2 separate regions of the Homo sapiens genome follow, and region 1 is linked to region 2. Evidence: promoter capture Hi-C in human tissues and cell types (Jung and others, 2019). All regions are on one chromosome and are shown on one strand. Each heading gives the region's core, a stretch centred on a gene start or on the middle of the fragment in contact. The rest is flanking DNA. Distances are from core to core; before and after follow the strand shown. Region 1 has its middle 35 kb from the start of ZNF138. Region 2 holds the start of ZNF138 (zinc finger protein 138).

Region 1 (6,924 bases), core at 2,599-5,098, 35 kb after region 2:
TGAACTCCTGACCTTGTGATCCACCCACCTCGGCCTCCCAAAGTGCTGGGATTACAGTTGTGAGCCACTGCGCCCAGCCTCTGTATTTACTTTGACAACAGCCAGGTCTAAAGCCATGGTCTTGAACTTATTAACATCTGAATTCTAGTAGGCACAGGATTCAGGTACCTGAGGGATGGACTTGGGCACACTGCCACACTGTGTGAATATAAAAGAGGGTTTTGGGGGAAAAGAAAGGCAGGAGAGAGAAAGGTACTATCAAGAAACAAGAGTGGGCCAAGCACAGTGGCTCACACCTCTAATCCTAGCACTTTGAGAGGCCAAAGTTGGTGGATCACCTGAGGTTAGGAGTTCAAAACCAGCCTAGCCAACATGGTGAAATCCCATCTCTACTAAAATTACAAAAAATAGCTAGCCGTGGTGGCACACACCTGTAGTCCCAGCTATTTGGGAGGCTTAGGCTGAAGAACTGCTAGAACTTGGGAGGCAGAGATTGCAGTGAGCTGAGATCATGCCACTGTACTCTAGCCTGGGCAACAGAGCAAGAGGCTCCATCTCAAAATAAATAAATAAATGAATAAGTAAGCAAATAAAAGTTATTTTCTGCCTATTTTTTGAGATTCTCAAAGATCTTATAGTTGGTATTATTCTCTTACTACAATTCTTCTTTAGGAGTAAGTAACTTCATACCTAACTCTAAATTAGTTCTATTTGACAAAGTTTAGGTAGAGCCCCAGGACAATAACAACAAATCCATCCTCAAAAAGAGGCTCCCCAACCACTTCTATCCCAACTTTAACTGCATCTGACTTTGAGTATCCAGCTTTCCAGGGCTCTGTAGCTTCTGTCAGTATAAACAATTCTTCCATGGCTGAGGTGAGTAGGCTGGGACACCTGCAGGGGTGACTCACCAGTAAAAGACCAACCAACTTGGTGTTCAATCACCCCTTTTTGCAGGCTCAAGACTGGCCAGCTTGGAGTCACTGGGTTTGGGCTTTCATTTTCCAATCAGCATAGTTCACTTGATTTTTTTTTTTTTTCTGAGAGGAGTTTTGCTCTTGTCACCCAGGCTGGAGTGCAATGGCATGATCTTGGCTCACTGCAACCTCCACCTCCTGGGTTCAAGTGATTCTCCTGCCTCAGCCTCCCAAGTAGCTGGGATTACAGGCATGCGCCACCATGCCCATCTAATTTTGTGTTTTTAATAGAGATAGGGTTTCTCCATGTTGGTCAGGCTGGTCTCAAACTCCCGACCTCAGCTGATCTGCCCACCTCGGCCTCCCAAAGTTCTGGGACACTTGATTTTATATTTAAAAAAATAGTCAGTGTTTGAAGAATCTAGCAAAATTACTCAAACTCAGTGTTTATGAAAGAGAATTAAGTTGTAAGGCATTTACATTTTATATCTCAACAACAACAAAACAACGAAAAACAAGTGTCTATCCCTTTCAGACAATAAACACATCACTTATCTCTATAAAAAATAATTTAACAATTAACCATATATTAATACTTTTAGAAGGTGCCAAGTATCACCTTAAAAAATTTAGCATTAAACTTATTCAAATGACATGCTACAGAAAAGAGATTCAAAATATTACAAATTCTTCACCCTCAAAAAAAAAAGGAACTATTGTTTTGATGCATCTATGTAATGCACCAGTTGATTTACTACACGTCTTGTGGAAATGTATTCATTTTCTATAGCCATAAAAGGAGAGATATTTCCTATTTTTCCCTGGTAGCATTCTCAAAGCTAAGCCCTGAGATTCTGTTTGAAATTACCCCCAAAAAGTGGCAGACCAGAGAAACAACTACACTCACTTTTGTAAGGAAAAAAGTAAATAACAACTTTTAACAAATAAAATATATGATTAGAACCCCATCTCTACTAAAAATACAAAAAAATTAGCCAGGCATGGTGGCAGGCGCCTGTAGTCCCAGCTACCCAGCTACTCGGGAGGCTGAGGCAGGAGAATGGCATGAACCTGGGAGGCGGAGCTTACAGTGAGCCGAGATTTCGCCACTGCACTCCAGCCTGGGCGACACAGCAAGACTCCATCTCAAAAAAAAAAAAAAAAAAAAAAAAGAATTTTAAAAACCAAAATCCAACATGCCTTTTTACAAGGGTCAGGATAGTCAAGGCCCTCAGACAAATAAACTTTGGTGGTTCGGAGAGGACAGAAAATGGAGCAGGCCAATCACCTGGTAGGGCTTGTTATCAATGTCATTTGTAAGGCTACTTTAAAAAAGATTGTCCAACGAGAAACAAGCTACCCCCTCGCCCATCTCCACTATGCTGAGGCAATCACTGAAAGGCGCACTGCCCCAGAGGACAAAGGTTCTCTGGGCCAGAAGCCCCCAACCAGATGATCCAACAACAGGACTGAGGGTGCCCAGGGCAAATGCCACCTCACATCATCACCTTCACTGAGCCCCGGGTACATTTAACCATTGAGGGTCAGGAAATTGACTTCCTCCTGGACACTGGTGTGGCTCTCTCAGTGTTAATCTCCTGTCCCGGACAGCTGTCTTCAAGGTCAACTACCATCCGAGGAATCCTGGGACAGCCTGTAACCAGATATTTCTCCCACCTCCTCAGTTGTAACTGGGAGACTTTGCTACACATAGTAAGTATGCTTATCTAATCCTACAAGCCCATACTGCAATATGGAAAGAAAGGGAGTGCCTAACCTCTGGGGGAACCCCCATTAAATATCACAAGGAAACCATGGAGTTATTGCATGCAGGCAAAAACCCAAGGAAGTGGCACTCTTACACTGCCGAAGCCATCAAAAGGGGAAGGAGAGGGGAGAACAGCAGCATAAGTGGCTGGCAGAGTCAGGGAAAGATCAGCAGAGAGGAAAGACAGAGAAAGACAGGAAGAGACAGAGACAAAGAGAGACACAGAAAGAGACAGTCAAAAAGAGAGGAAGAGACAGAGACAAAGAGTCAGAGAGACAGAAAGTCAGAGAAGGAGAGAGGAAGAGACAAAGGAATCAAAGAGAGAGACAGAAAGTCAGAGAGAGGAAGAGACAGACAAAGGGGAGTCAGAGAGAGAAAAGACAGAAAGTCAAAGAGAAAGAAAGAGAGATGGAAGTAGTGGAGAAAAAACAGTGTACCCTTTTCCTTTAAAAGTCAGGGTAAATATAATTGATCATTGAAGGCCTTCTCTGTAACCCTATAACAATCCAATACCACCTTGTCAGTGTAATCAAGGGCACAGCCCAAAAGCACTGAGGCCACTGACAACCCATAGCCTTCCTATCAAAAATCCTTAACCCAGCAGGTTTCCTAACAGGGGATCTAAACCTTAACTAATTACCATACAAAGGTCCTACCAGATATAGGAGGAACTCCCTTCAGGACAGAAAGACAGGTGGTTCTTCCTGGGCGCTTAAGGGAAAAAGACACAATGGGTATTCAATAAGTGATAAGGAAACTCTTGTAGAGGCAGAGTTAGGAAAATTGCCTAAAAATTGGTCTGCTTAAACGTGTGAGCTGTTTGTGCTCAGCCAAACCTTAAAGTACTTACGGAATCAGGAAGGAGCCATCTATATCAATTCTAAGTTAATATGGACTGAGCGAAGTCTTATTAATAGCAAAGAGTAATTGAAATCCCAAGCTTACAAGGTTTTCAACAAAAGTAAAATTTGCTAAAAGTTAACACCTCTCCTTGCCCCTTTAATGGAATCCTTTTACTATTTCATCATATTATTAAGCAGCATACTAACCATACTCTTTGCCTATCTATCCCTCCTGCTTCCTTGGATACCTCATACAATCACCCCTCCCCTTCCACTAGCTCCTAATTACCTATACAAGACTCTCAACTTAACCCACTGTCTGTTAAACCAGTCCAATCCTTCCCTGGCAAATGACTGTTGGCTTTGCATCTCTCTATCAAACTCTGCTTGCGTTGCCACTCCCATTCCCGCAAAAAACTGGGTCTTTACCAACTTAACTTACCATCCTCATTATGAAGGAAAAGACCCTTTCTGACATCTAGATATGCAATCATTAGCCAACTTCCCCATCTCTGATAGGACCAAGAATACCCTAACAGGACGTGCAACCAACTTTAACATTCTTACATTTCCAACCTCACCTATTACACAAGCAATGAAAAGCCCATACATGGCCATGTAACTACGAATACCACCTTAACTTTCCAAACCCCTTTATGCATCCAACGCAATCTGTTATCAGGCCTTCCCCCGGGGCACCTACTACTCCATCAGTGTAATTACACCCTACAACTTCAAGCCCCAACTGATCATAGTAACTTCTGAGTCACCCAAACAGCTCCATTCAGACAGCATGTCTGTCTCTCAGGGTCTCCAAAAATCATCACCTCCTCCCTGCTTAACAAACAGTCCAGGTTTTGTAATGGCAAACATACTTCCTGCATGACCATTCACCCCTGGACCCCCTGCAGCAGCGCCCCCACCACTAGTGAATGCCTTTTCATCCCCTCTTTCAATCACTCTCTCCAATGGTTCCTAGTAGATACAGAACGGTTTTTTCTCCAATGGGAAAAGAGAACACAGGGAGCCACTCATTTTTCTCCCAACACCCCTTTCCAGCTGCTCACCAGAGCTACCTTGGCAAGTACTCTAGGAGTATGGGAAAACAAAAACAACAAACTCACACACCTTTTTAACATACACAACTAGTTCTGTCTACCCAGGCAAGGTATATTCTTATGTGGAACGTCAACCTATAAATCTGCCTCCCCACTATCTGGACAGGCACCTGCACCTTAGTCTTTCTAAGTCCCAACATTAACATTGCCCCAGGAAATCAGATCCTATCAGTAACCCTCAAAGCTCAAGTCCAGCAGCACAGAGCCATACAACTAATACCCCTACTTACAGGGTTAGGAATGGCTATGGCTACAGGAACCGGAATAGCCAGTTTATCTACTTTATTCTCCTACTACCACACAGTCTCAAAGGATTTCTCAGACAATTTGCAAGAAATAACGAAATCTATCCTTACTGTACAATCCCAAATAGACTCTTTGGCAGCAGTGACTCTCCAAAACTGCTGAGGCCTAGACCTCCTAACTGATGAGAAAGGAGGACTCCGCACCTTCTCAGGAGAAAAGTGTTGCTTTTACACTAACCAGTCAGGGATAGTATGAGATGCTGCCTGGCATTTACAGGAAAAGGCTTCTGAAATCAGACAATGCCTTTCACCCTCTTATACCAACTTCTGGAGTTGGGAGACATGATTTTTCTCCTTTCAAGTTCCCGTGACAGTCATCTTGTTATTACTCGCCTTCAGGCCCTGTATTTTTAACCTCCTTGTCAAATTTGTTTCCTCTAGAATCGAGGCCATCAAGCTACAGATGGTCTTAAAAATGGAACCCCAAATGAGCTCAACTAACAACTTCTACTGAGGACCCCTGGACAGACCTTCTGACCTTTTCACTGGCCTAAAGAGTTCCCCTCTGGAGGACCCTACAACTGCAGGGCCCCTTCTTCAGCCCTATCCCACAGGAGGTAGCTAGAGTGGCCATCACTCAATTCCCAACAGCAGTTGGGGTGTCCTGTTTAGAGTGGGGATTGAGAGGTGAAGCCAGCTAAGCTTCTGAGTCAGGTGGGGACTTGGAGAACTTTTGTGTCTAGCTAAAGGATTGTAAACGCACCAATCAGCATGCTGTAAAAACACACCAATCAGCACTCTGTAAAATGGACCAATCAGCACTCCGTAAAATGGACCAATCAGCACTCTGTAAAACGGACCAATCAGCAGGATATGGATGGGGCCAAATAAGGGAATAAAAGCTGGCCACCAGAGCCAGCAGTGGCAACCTGCTGCCGTCCCCTTCCACAGGGTGGAAGCTTTGTTCTTTTGCTCTTTACAATAAATCTTACTGCTGCTCACTCTTTGGGTCTGCACCACCTTTAAGAGCTGTAATACTCACCATGAAAGTCCGCAGCTTCATTGTTGAAGTCAGTGAGACCAAGAACCCACCAGAAGGAAGAAACTCCGGACATATCTGAAGACCCGAAGGAAGAAACTCCAGACACACAATCTTTAAGAGCTGTAACACTTGTTGTGAAGGTCCGTGGCTTCATTCTTGAAGTCAGCGAGACCAAGAACCCGCCAGAAGGAATAAATTCTGGACACATTTTGAGTAGGCAAGCTGAGATTTTAACAGGAGAGCAATCCTCTAAGAAATAAAATGTTAGCCATGTGTGAATTTTTTTTTTTTTTTTTTTGAGCCAGAGTCTCCAACTGTCACCAGGCTGGAATGCAATGTCATGATCTCGGTTCACTGCAACCTCCACCTCCCAGGTTCAAGCAATTCTCCTGCCTTAGCCTCCCAAGTAGCTGGGATTGCAGGTGCCTGCCACCACACCTGGCTAATTTTTTGTATTTTCAGTAGAGACGGGGTTTCACTATGTTGGCTAGGCTGGTCTCCAACTTCTGACCTTGTGATCCACTCCCCTCGGCCTCCCAAAGTGCTGGGATTACAGGCCTGAGCCACTGTGCCCATCTTGAATTTTAAGTTTTTTAGTAGCCACATTAAATATAATAAAAAGAAACAAGTGAAATTTTTTGTAATTAACCCAGTATATCCAAAATATTTTTATTTTAATACGTGATCAATATGTAATTATTAATAAAGTAATTTTTGGTTCTAAACCTTCTTAACTCACTCTGTATTTTATATTTGCAGCACATCTCATTTTAAATCTGCCACATTCCAGGTTCTTAGTAGCCTCAAATGTCAAGTAGCTGCCACATCAAAGAGCAGCTCTGAGGGATCTGACTCTCTGATCTCAGGGAGCTGAAGGGCCTAAATACCCGCTTTCTGCTGGAAATGAGGGAACAGCCTCTCCCTGCTGCAGCTTGCCATGGTTACCACAGGACTGAATGAAGGAGGACAAATGAGAAATGAAAACCTAAAAC
Region 2 (6,393 bases), core at 136-2,635:
CCAGGACCAAGGAAAAAACTGAAGAGTGACTAAGGACACATTACCTTATAAAGTTTCCAAAGGGAAACCTTGACCCAAAAATATTCTGATAAGATCTCTGTACCTAGGGAAGATTTAAAAAAAAAAAAAAAGGCACAGAGATTTTTTACAATACAGCATCAGGGGATGAGTCTTTGGTTTCTTCTCATGGGAAATATTTACAAACAGATAACAAATCTTTTTTAAAATGCCATCCATGCTTTGTCAAAAAATGATTAATTAAAATACAGTATTTCAAATGTACACTAAAGGACAAATAGTTGATAATGTGAATTAGGAAGGGGAAGTTGGCATTTGGGAATGTCAGAAGGAACTGGAAATTTAGTATTTTACTGCAAGCCAGAGTTAGGCTGAAGGAATGGGAAATGGGGAGGGGGAGGAGTCTTGAGACCCTGCTTGGGACACATGTGAAAAATGAAGGGGAAGATCTGTCCCCTGTGGAGTGTGAAAATAATTAAGTGGCAGGCAATTAGACTGAGGTCGCTCCAGTCCCAGGGTTTCTGGTTTTAAAAAAATCTAACTCAAATGCATTTTTTTGTAAATTACTACCTTGTGAAAAATAAAATTCATGTTTAACCAACTGTAAACTGCCAATTAACCTCTGATTACATGACCAGGAAATTTCCTCCTTCATTGTACAAATTAAGAAACTACATAACTCTACTAACCAATTACTGAATTTGGTTTTATCATACACCTTATACAAGTGTTTCCTTCAAACCCCTCCCACGGACCACTACTGCAAACCACAGCTGGGTGCTCCACAATTCTTGAATCACTGTTTGATTAAATTAATTTTTTTGCGGTGACTTTCATAAATTTTAATAGGGGAAAAGAGGGACAGGGAAGCCCGCGGAGGAAACCTCTTCCCATTCATGAACCCAGCACCCCGAGTCAGGATTCTCCCCTGACGACCCTCCCGTCGTCTCTGCACAATCGCTGCGGGTGCAGAGCTGCTCAGAGAGGGCTCCAGGCCAGGGCACAGTCACTGCGCAGGGAGGAGACAGGACGCCTGGTTCCGGCTGTCAGCCCAGCTGCCATGCTATGGCTTAAGGGGACTGAGGGCCGAGCTGTGCCAAGAACTCGGGGCCGCGGATTTTGCAGCCGACTGCGGGAAGACCCGAGTACTGCCACAGCCACTTCCGACCGGTTCCAACCAGCTCCCTCCCCCTCTCTCGGGATGTCGGACCCAGCACTCTCACCATTTCTAGGCTTCCGGGGGATCCTGGCGTCTTAGCTGTGAATCTCCCAATAACCAGATCACAGCGCCACAGAGGCTGGGCCTCTAGGAGTAAGAGGACGCAGAAAAGTGAAGGCCAGACCTGCAGCACCCGCTGCAGCGAGACAAAGACCCCGCCGCCTCCCGGAAGACGTCATGTCCGCTCCAGCTGGGTGCCTGATTGGACCGTTCCCAGCCCGGCGTCCCTGATTGGATAACGTTTAACAACCCGCCCCCTCAGGCCCTGAGTGACAGATGTGCTCAGGTGCTGGGCTGAAGGAAGACAGAGTTAAACCTAAGCAGCAGCCTTTTCCAGAAGGGCTTCCTCCCTGAGCTGAGTCAGGCCCACCCCAGAGGGCATTTGCATTTAACCTTGTGTATAAGGTCGTATGCATTTATAAATAACATATAGCTATTCACATCTGAATATAACAATTATTTTTAAATTCCAGATTTTATAACCGTACTGGCTTCTGGTCCTTTGAGCAGGCAGCCTGAGATTTTTTTCTTTTTTTTTTTTGAGACAGAGTCTCACTCTCACCCAGGCTCAAGCACAGTGGCACGATTTCGGCTCACCCCAAACTCCGCATCTCGGGCTCAAGTGATTCTCCTGCCTTAGCCTCCTGAGTAATTGGGATTACAGGCACCCGCCTCCACGCCCGGCTACTTTTTGTATATTTAATAGAGACAGAATTTTGCCATGTTGGTCAGGCTGATCTCGAACTCCTGACCTCAGGTGATCCACCTGCCTCGGCCTCCCAAAGTGCTGGGATTACAGAGCACATGTGAATTCCAAATTTTCTAGTAGTCAAACTTTAAGAATAAACAGGTGGAATTCACTCTAATTGAGATGGTTAGTCATTTAGGCTGGGCTCAGTGAGACCATTCTTGTGACCTCAGCTGAGTTCCTTCAGACATGTATCATCAGCTGCTTGTTGACTAGGCAGCTGTGCTTCTGGGGGTGAGCTTCTGCTTCTGAGGCTGTCAACAGAGGCAACTTGCTTCTCCTCCCCATACTATTTTATCTTCCATCTGGCTAACATGGGCTTTTTTCGCGGAGATAGTAGCCTTCTGAAAGAAAAACAGAAGCATGCAAAACCATTTGAGCCTACGCCTCAAACTAGCACACTGCACTGTTCACAGGTTTTTACTGCCCTGAGCAAATAAGGCCAGCCAGATCTAGGGTTTGGAAAACAGAACTGGATCTCAATGGAAACAGCTGTAAATGCACCTGGCAATGGGCATGGATAGCGGAGGGATGAAAAATTGCTAACATTTTTGCAATCAGTATCATTCTGCCTTTTTTTGCATATGTGGTTTATATAACTCTTCCACATCAAAAAAAAAAAAATTTGTGCAAAGACCCACAGCTATTAAGTGGCTGGGCTGGGACTCAGAATTAACTCCATTTGACCCTTGAAATCCTGGAGAGTGACACTTCTAAAATAGAAGCCAGATTTCTTTTAGATTTGTGCCCATATAGCACTGTTTATTATTATTGCTAGAAATAATCTTAAGAAATTGAAGAAGCACACGGTAGCTCACATCTATAATCCTAGCACTTTGGCAAGCTGAGATGGGAGAATCACTTGCGCTCAGGAGTTCAAGTGCAGCCTGAATAACATAGTTAAGATCCTATGTGCATGAAAATTTTTTTTTTTTTAATTAGCCAGTCATGGCCGGGCGCGGTGGCTCATGCCTGTAATCCCAGCACTTTGGGAGGCCGAGGAGGGCAGATCACGAGGTCAGGAGATCGAGACCATCCTGGCTAACACGGTGAAACCCCGTCTCTACTAAAAATACAGTCCCAGCTGCTCGGGAGGCTGAGGCAGGAGAATGGCATGAACCCACGAGATGGGGCTTGCAGTGAGCCAAGATCCCACCACTGCACTCCAGCCTGGGTGACAGAGCGAGACTCCGTCTCAAAAAAAATAAAAAATAAAAATAAATAAAAATAAAAATTAGCCAGCATGAGGCAATCCTGTAGTCCCAGCTACTCAGGTGGCAGAGGCAAGAGGATTACTTGAGCCTGGAAGGTCGAGGCTGCAGTGAGCCATGATTGGTTACGACACTGCACTTCAGCCTGGGTGGTGAGAGTGTGATCCTTTCTCCAAAAAAAAAAAAAGAAAAGAAAAGAAACAGAAAAGAAAAAAGTTGCAGGAGCATTTCAAAAGGACATAGCATATGTGGAAAAAGATAGATGAGGGATGAGTTGAGAAAATCAAAGCCCAGCAACACATTACTTATTTTTTATCATAGATAAAATCTGTAAACATCTAAAAAAAAAAACAAAACCTTCAGAGAAATTGAATGTAACAGAGTCTAAATGAACAAAGAATGATTTGCAAATCAGGCAGCCTGTGGGCCCAGAATAGGCTCAGAGAGACTCCAGCACAGCAACATGGTAAAAAAATTGATCAACAGAAAAAGCAAAGTGGCATACAGAAAATGAAATTGAGGTACAGAAACAGCCAAATTGATTACAGCTTGGGATTTGCCTTATTTGAACATGGTTTGAAGAGTTGATGTCCTTTTATTGGCAAAATCACAGTGGCTGGTACAGGAATGGGTTATAATCTACTTACATATCCAGTTAGGTTTCAGTTTAGTATGTACCAAAAAAAAAAAAAAAAGAAAAACAAACAAACAAAAAACCTACTGACCAAAATTAAACATGAAAACAGAGAGCTTCAGGCTATAATTTAACAATTTCTCCTTTTTGGTTATCTTCTCAATTTTGAGAGATAGACCAAGTTATCAGCTAAATAAATGGTCTCCTCATTTCAACCAAGCAGCCTGTTTCTTAAACCCCCGTAACTGAATCTCTGTAATACGTGTAATATATTTCTGTATAATCTCTATAATATATTTCTCCATGTGCAACTATGCATATTAGCAACTACACAGATACTTTTCTGTTTATGCAATAAGTAATCTCAAGAAATTCCATTATTTAGCACAACTTTAGTAAAAAAAGTCTATTGTGTAACCATAGCCTTTGCAGTAGAATCTGCTATAGAGACTATTATGAAGGATAAATGTCTAACCAATGCCTGATTTTTTTACCCTGAACCATGAAAAAAAAAAAAAAAAAAAGACCTAACAAATGATGCTTATTTAGAAGAGTAATGGCCAGGCAATGCTCTGAAACTTATTGTGAATGAGTTCTTTTTAACTTCTGAAGTAGGTTAAGAGCAGTGGACCTATATTCTGTGTTTCTGATATTATGAGGCAACAAATGTCCCATTAGAATTTCTCACCCACATTGACCCTTCATCTTGTACCTATCAAGGCATAAGTTTGTTCATATATAAAGTTGGCTGCAAAATTCTCTAGAGAATTAGATAATTAGTAGAGACGGGGTTTCACCATGTTGGCCAGGCTGGTTTCAAATGCCTGACCTCAAGTGATCCAACCGTCTCATCCTCCCAAAATGCTGGGATTACAAGCACGAGCCACTGTGCCCAACCTAATCCCAGCACTTTAAAAAGCCAAGAAACAAAGACTGTTTAAGCCTAGGAATACAAGTCCAGCCTGGGCAACATGGCAAAACCCTATGTTTACAAATAATACAAACATTAGCTGGGTATGGTGGCCCGCACTTGTAGTACCAGCTATTTAGGAGGCTGAGGAAGGCGAATTGCCTGAGCCCAAAAGGTCGAGGCTGCAGTGAGCCGTGATCAAGCCACTGTACTTCATTCTGGGTGACAGAGGGAGACCCTTTCTAAAAAAAATAAAATGCCAAAGCATATAAACTTAAACTTATGGAGTTTTCTGTGTTTCTTGTTTTTATCATTACTATTTCAATAGTTTTGGGGGTACAGGTGGTGTTTGGTTACATGAATAAGTTCTTTAGCAGTGGTGTGTGAGATTTTGGTGCACCCATCTACAGAGCAGTATACGCTGTACCCAATGTGTAGTCTTTTATCCCTCAACCCCACACCGCCCTTTCCCCCAAGTTTCTAGAGTCCATTATGTGACATAATTCTTATGCCTTTATATCCTCATAGTTTAGCTCTCACTAAAAAGTGACAACATGCCATGCTTGGTTTTCCATTTCTGGGTTACTTTACTTAGAATAATGATCTCCAACTTTATCCAGGTTGCTCTGAGTGCCATTATTTTGTTTTTTTGTTTGTTTGTTTTGAGACAGAGTCTTGCTTCGTCGCCCAGGCTGGAGTGCAATGGCGCGATCTTGGGTCACTGCAACCTCCGCCTCCCGGGTTCAAGTGATTCTCCTGCTTCAGCCTACTGAGTAGCTGGGATTAGAGGCACCTGCCACTACACCCAGCTAACTTTTGTATTTTTAGTAGAGACAGGGTTTCACCATGTTGAACAGGCTGGTCTTGAACTCCTGACCTCAGGTGATCCGCCCGCCTTGGCCTCCCAAAGTGCTGGGATTACAGGCCTGAGCCACCACACCCGGCCTGAGTTTCTTGCAGATTCTGAATATAAGTCCTTTGTTGGAAGCATGGTTTGTGAACCTTTCTTCTCACTCTGTGGGTTATCTGTTTACTGCTTGAATTATCTCTTTTGCTGTGCAGAAACTTTTCCGTGTAATTAAGTCACATTTATTTATCTTTTTTTGTCGCATTTGGTTTTGGGTACTTGGTCACAAACTTTTTGACTAAGCCAATGTGTAGAGGAGTTTTTTCTATATTATCTGCTAAAATTTTTATAATTTCAGGACTTAGACTTAAGTCTTTGATCCATCTTGTGTTGATTTTTTAAATCTTTTTTTGTTTGTTTGTTTGTCTGAGGCAGAGTCTCGCTCTTTTGCCCAGGCTGGAGTGAAGTGGAACAATCTCAGCTCACTGCAATCTTTGCCCCCCTGGTTCAAGCGATTCCCCTGCCTCAACCTCCCGAGTAGCTATGTAGCAGGATGAGCCGCAGACAAAACTCCTCAGACACTGGATTAAAGACGGAAGAGTTTTTTATCTGGCCGGGAGCGTCGGCAGACTCACGTCTTAAAAGCCGAGCTCCCCGAAAGAGAAATTCTTGGCCTTTTTAAAGGCTTGCAACTTTAAGGGGTCCACGTGAAAGGGTCGTGATACATCAAGCAAGCATGGGAAACGTGACTGGGGGCTACATGCATCAGCTAACAGAACAAAAAGCTTTACAATGCTTTTTTCATA

Evidence for each region. Contacts are between HindIII fragments. The study calls those that stand out against the background at their distance.
Region 1: a fragment that was not itself captured here is called in contact with the fragment with the promoter of ZNF138 in region 2 in 1 of the 25 tissues and cell types used here (H1 embryonic stem cells).

The regions. Positions count from the first base shown.
Region 1 is chr7:64,756,305-64,763,228 of GRCh38, reverse strand. No RefSeq gene overlaps it. Among named protein-coding and RNA genes, the nearest start is that of ZNF138, 35 kb to the left of the region's middle. The HindIII fragment of the contact is 6,380 bases long and covers 659-6,924 here.
Region 2 is chr7:64,789,420-64,795,812 of GRCh38, reverse strand. It overlaps ZNF138 (zinc finger protein 138), which reads right to left and starts at 1,385. Exons shown (of 4, transcript NM_001271639.2): 1 at 1,242-1,385. The coding sequence starts at 1,244. RefSeq lists enhancers at 785-1,345, 1,130-1,369, 1,610-1,659. The HindIII fragment of the contact is 15,546 bases long and covers 1-6,393 here.